2 separate regions of the Homo sapiens genome follow, and region 2 is linked to region 1. Evidence: promoter capture Hi-C in human tissues and cell types (Jung and others, 2019). All regions are on one chromosome and are shown on one strand. Each heading gives the region's core, a stretch centred on a gene start or on the middle of the fragment in contact. The rest is flanking DNA. Distances are from core to core; before and after follow the strand shown. Region 1 holds the start of F10 (coagulation factor X). Region 2 overlaps CUL4A (cullin 4A).

Evidence for each region. Contacts are between HindIII fragments. The study calls those that stand out against the background at their distance.
Region 2: a fragment that was not itself captured here is called in contact with the fragment with the promoter of F10 in region 1 in 2 of the 25 tissues and cell types used here (dorsolateral prefrontal cortex and spleen).

The regions. Positions count from the first base shown.
Region 1 is chr13:113,121,296-113,124,175 of GRCh38, reverse strand. It overlaps F10 (coagulation factor X), which reads right to left and starts at 1,377. Exons shown (of 8, transcript NM_000504.4): 1 at 1,251-1,377. The coding sequence starts at 1,320. The HindIII fragment of the contact is 14,274 bases long and covers 1-2,880 here.
Region 2 is chr13:113,239,922-113,242,801 of GRCh38, reverse strand. The region is part of intron 10 of CUL4A (cullin 4A); the gene reads right to left. Among named protein-coding and RNA genes, the nearest start is that of MIR8075, 22 kb to the left of the region's middle. The HindIII fragment of the contact is 5,276 bases long and covers 1-2,880 here.

The DNA.
Region 1 (2,880 bases), core at 128-2,627:
TCCCGGGCCGGGCTTAGGGCCTCGGGAGCCCCGGGCCGGGCTTAGGGCCTCAGGATCCTAGAGCATTCCGGCTGCAGAATTTTCTACCAATTCGCGGAAGCATCTGTCTGTTTGCAGAGTAGCTTTGCTGTCGATGATGATGGCATGGGTCCTTCCAGGGCCTTGTTCCACCCACGCTGATCTCATCCCACCACAAGCATCACAGTGGGCTCCTGCAGGGGGCAGTGTGGCCTGAGGGGGAGGAAGAAGGCTGGGCGAGTTGGAGCCACACAGTACCCCATGAAGACGGGAGTCCCGTTCCGCGTGGGAGACAGGAAGATGTGGCTCAGGGGACAGAGGCTGGGGAGGGCAGGGGGTTGAGGGTGGGATGGAGAAGACCCCCGTGTGATGTGACTGGAGCTCCAAGTCACCAGGCGGAGGGGCCGTTTAGGTCAGTGATGCACTGAGGATCCACTCAGCCTTCCCAGGGGTCTCCCCTTTCCACCCCACGAGGGTCTCCCCCTGCTCCGTCTCTCCCTCACACATTCCCTTCCCAGGCCTGGGTCCCCTTGGTGCCCCTGCCTGTCCACTTTGTCCAGGATGCAAACAAGTCTAGGGTCCCTGTCTCTCGTGTCCCCACCAGAGGGGCCTCCTCTTCCTCCGCTGTCCCCAGGCTTGCCTGGCTTCTGTCCTGTCTGGGCCTCTGCTTTTGGACAGACCCGGGGGTCCTGGACAGCCCTGCTGCCCCCACCTGTCCAGCTGTGCATTAGGCAGCTCCTTCCCCGACGGAGCCAGTCCGAGAGTGGTGGCACTGGCTCGGCTCAGCCTCCTCCTCCCTGGGAGCTCCTCTGCTGTGCCCCTCGTCCTGTGCCTCCCTGTGGTGGCAGATGGCTAACTGTCCTGTCTCTGCCTGCCCCAACCCCTCCCTCTCTCTCTGTCTCCGTCTTTCTACCTCTGTCTCTGCCTCTTGGCCTCCCATCTCACTGTGTCTCCGTTTCTCCTTCCCTCTCCCTTTCTCTCTCTGACTCTGTCCTTGTGTTTTTGTCTCTGTGACCTCTGATCCGCCCGTCTGACTCTCAGCCCCAGGGAGCCACAGCTGGCCTTGAGGATGCCGTTGGCTGGAAAGGCCAAGCCCAGCCATCCGAGCCCAGCCTCTGGCAGCACTCAAGGCACCCACCGTCCAGGCTGCAGAGATGAGAGGGTTTCCCCAACTGCCGCCCCTCCCTGCTCCCTGGCGCTGCTTTTGGGTCTGAAGGGCGAGGGGCACTTACGACTTTCCCCGAGCAGCAGGAGGCCAGCCAGGGAGGCACTGAGCAGGACGAGGTGCAGTGGGCGCCCCATGGTGTGGCCGAGTACTGTGTCCCTGTCCTCACTGGGACAGGCTGCTGGAGCAAAGTCCACGCCCCAGCTGGGATGGCTGTTGTCTGGCTGCTTATCACTTGGCTTAGGCCTCCTGATTGGAGCCGAGACCTGCTGGCGAGGCAGGGGAGTGACCACGCTGGGAACACATCCACTCTGGCCCCACCTTCCCCAGGCAGAGCTGGGCGGCCAGAGAGGCCCCGCAGAACCTCATCCTCATCAGTCACCAGGGCCGCGGGTGTGGGGACTTTCTGTTCTAAGAATAAAAACATCATTTCGTGCTCATTTTGTAGTTTCCAGATGTTTACATTTAACTCTCAGTCCTCACATACAAATATCATTTTCCCCATCATTTTTCCAGAAGAGAAAACTAAGTTTAGAGAGCGCAGAAGCCTGAGCCGAGGCCGCTGGCAGTGAGCGTGGGATCTGAGCCCAGGACTTCTGCCCCAAGGCCCTGCTTGTTTCTGGGCGGGCCCTTCCGCTCACAGCCACTCTCTGGGTGGTATCAGGTGGTCTCATGTCACGGGGGGGGCTTGGCATCTGCACCATGGCCTCCCACAGGCCAGGCTGGCACCTGCCCCACCCACCCCCAAACCTTCTGTGCCCGCATGGCCCCAAAACGTACTTCTGTGGGGAGTGACCTTCCCGTGACCATCTGGAGGGACAGGCTGTGTCTGAAGCCCCTCCTGACCTGCCCACCACTGGCCACACTGTTCCGAGGCTGAGAGGGCTTCTGGGCTCGTTCTCCAGTGCAGAAACCTCCCATCACAAGGTCCTGAGTGTCTCTGCTCAATGGCTGTGGGAGTCACTGGGAGGTGCAGCCGGGCTTTTTGCCTCTGGGGTCTCTGGAATAAATGGTCTAAAGCTTGGCCAGTGTGGCGATCACTGCCTGCTATGCCGTAGTGGCCGGGGAGCAATGCCCCTAACACCCACAGCACTGGCCACTGCCTCATGGTGCATCTGCCTTGATGGGTCGCCCTGTCTCGCAGCCACCTGCACATGAGCCTGGTGTGCACACATTGTGCGTCATTGTGCCTGGCACACAGGAGGCACTCACTGAGCCCCACCCGACTGCACAAACTGATGATGCTGGATGCCAACGCCAGGCTGGCCTCCCACGGCGGGCACCACGCACAGCCTGGTCCTCTGAGAAGGGCCTTCCTGGTGGCACCAGATGTCTGACTCCTGCCTCTCCTGGTCTCCACCCTCTGACATCGCCTCTAGGCATGTTTGTATGGAGAGACCAATGCGGTGTGTGCACCAACAGCAGGATGCTCATGGCAGACACGCAGTCTTTGTCATCAATGCTGGGTGGCGATGCTGGCTTTGGTGGCCCAAGCCTGCCGCCTCATCCCACCCTGTCCCAGGCCCATGGCCAGTGGCCTCCCCGTATTCTATCTCGCCACTCACAGAAAGCTGGAGCTGAGCCGTGGCAGGTGGCACGTCCCATATGAAACATGTAGCCTTTGGGGGCGCCCAGGCCCTTCAGCGAAGCCTCTGGGGAGTCCCGGGCCCCCTCCTCCGGCAGCACCATGAGGTGGG
Region 2 (2,880 bases), core at 162-2,661, 120 kb before region 1:
GAATACACTTTTTTTTGAGGCAGGCCCTCACTCTGCGGCCGAGGCTGGAGTGCGGTGGTGCAATCACGGTTCACTGCAGCCTCAACCTCCCAAGCTCAAGCAATCCTCCCACCTCAGCCTCCTGAGTAGCTGGTGCTACAGGCTCAGGCCACCACATCTGGCCCATCTTTTTAAAGTTTTGTAGAGACGGGGTCATGTTGCCCAGGCTGGTCTCGAACTCCTGGCCTCAAGCAATCCTCCCACTGTGATTTCCCAAAGTGCTGGGTTTACAGGCATGAGCCCCTGTGCTTGGTGTGAATATACAATTAAATACACAATTAATGCATTGGTCTTACGATTCTGTTTCTGAGAGAACTTACAAACGACTGGAAAATGTCCGTTGCTTTTTAAAGAATGTTTATGTGTAAGTTCCTCCAAGACAAGTTAATTCCTATTAATTCAATATACCTCTTGGGACTTCTTGGCTAGTTTTCCTTCTCCATCACTTCTAACCATGAAAAGCTCACTTTTTTAGTTTGTACTTTTTTTTTTTTGTTTTGAGATGGACTCTCGCTTTGTCACCAGGCTGGAGTGCAGTGGCGTGATCTCGGCTCACTGCAACCTCCGCCTCCCATGTAGCTGGGACTACAGGTGCACACCACCACGCCCAGCTAGAGACGGGGTTTCACCATGTTGGCCAGGATGGTCTTGATCTCTTGACTTCATGATCTGCCTGCCTTGGCCTCCCAAAGTGGTGGGATTACAAGCGTGAGCCACTGTGCCTAGCCTAGTTTGTATTTTTAATTTAAAACTGTTATATTAAACATTCCTAAAAGTCTGTGTAGGGCACTAATAAACAGTTAACATTTGATGATATAAACTATATATGCCGAAGAGGAACTGAATACAATGATTGGATTTAAAAAATTCGTCTCAATAGAATGCACATGTGCACTCACACATCACACACACACGCGAGGTAGCTGGCTGGTGGAAAGATGCCAAGAGAAGGCTGGGCGCAGTGGCTCACGCTTGTAATCCCAGCACTTTGGGAGGCTAAGGCGGGTGGATCACAAGGTCTGGAGTTCCAAGACCAGCTTGGACAATATGGTGAAACCCCATCTCTACTAAAAATACAAAAATTGGCCAGGTGTGGTGGCGGGAGCCTGTAATCCCAGCTACTCAGGAGGCTGAGGCAGGGAACTGCTTGAACCCAGGAGGCAGAGGTTGCAGTGAGCTGAGATCACGCCACTACACTCCAGCCTGGATGACAGAGTGAGACTCCACCTCAAAAAAAAAAAAAAAAAAAAAGATGCCAACAGAAAGGGCACAGACTCTCCCAGAGAGGGGCGGTGTGTGGCTAGCAGGTGTGGGAGGGACTTACCTCTTACTCTACACCCTTTGGTGCTAACTGCATTTTGAAATAATGCACATACACTACAAGGCCCAGCTTTATTTTGATAACGGCATGTGGAGTTGAATATAAACTACTATTTTGTTACAGTATAACTACTTATTGCTGACACTCAGGGGTGATGGTCACTCACTGATTTTTATTACCCAGACTGGAAACTGCAAAGGTGAACTTTTCCTAGTTTTTAGCACACATTCCCATCCCCTGAAGACTGTCTCACTGGCAAAAAACCTAAATCTTCAGTAGCTTTATGGCCAATTTAGTGTGACTCAGTTATAAGTTCCAATTCTATCATTGTACGAGACCTTGTGGGGAGGGGTGCTGTGAGTGCTGGCTTTCCACAGCTGGACTGATACATGACTTCAGGTCTGATTATTCCATAAAGCAGCATGTAAGCTTTATCTTTTTTATTTAACGGAAATCTTTATTCAGATAATGACAGATTTGCATAATAGTAAAAATAGCAAAGCAATCCCAGTGTCTTTATTTCCACAGTTTCCTCCAATGGCAACGGTTTGCGAAACTACACAACAGTGTCTCAGCTGGGGTACTGACATGGCAGCGCACCCGTCTTTTTCACATGGCCCAGTTTACTCGTAACTCATCTGGGTGTGCACATCTAGACCTCGGCCGAAACCCCGACTGTTCCCGCAGAAGGCTACCTCCTGGGGCCTTTTATAACCACACACCCTGCCCCATCCCTACACCCTGGTAACTTTTCATCTATCCTCCATTTCTAAATTTTGTCATTTCCAAAATGTTATGCAATAACACGTTAAGTATCTGTGATTGGCTTTTCTTTTTTTCCTCTTAGTGTAATTCTCTGGAAATTTTGTTTATCTTTTCATTATGGGATTTAAGAATAGTCACCAGCAAGCAAAAACACAGACTTTTGCTAAATGTTCACCATTTAAGCTGGAAAATTCATGCTAGGCAACTGGCACATCCTGAAAACACGAGCTATCTGTGAAGGGGCCCTGATGTCTGCCTCAGTTCTCCTGTTTCTGTGAGGGGCATCTGGAGAATGGCTTCTCATTAGAGGGTCTTCAGCAGGTTTCTTGGGCTGGGCAACTCTGGCCCTCTGGGCAGGTGATTCTTTGTGGTGAGGGCTGCCTTGTGCATTCAGCAGCACCCCTGGTGCTGCCCAGCAAAGCAAGCCGCACCCTCTCTGTTCAGACAGCCACAAATGTCTCCAGACATCAACAAATGTCCCCTTGGTGGGGTGGTGCCCTGGGCCGAGAGCCCCTAGTCTTCAGGGAGGTCCTATGTCAGCACCAAAGGGCCGTTCTCCTGCACAGGACATGTGAAAACTCAGGGTACTGCCCAAGAAGCCACTCTACGACGGGTTGGACTGGGCTTGTTAGGGATGCCAAAGAAATGCTTTCGAAACATGAAAGTGAAAGTTTAAGTAATAAATCCTAAATTTGGACCGTTAAGAAATAAAGTTTATAAAGCAAACTGATATGCCAAATATATAATAGTTCTCC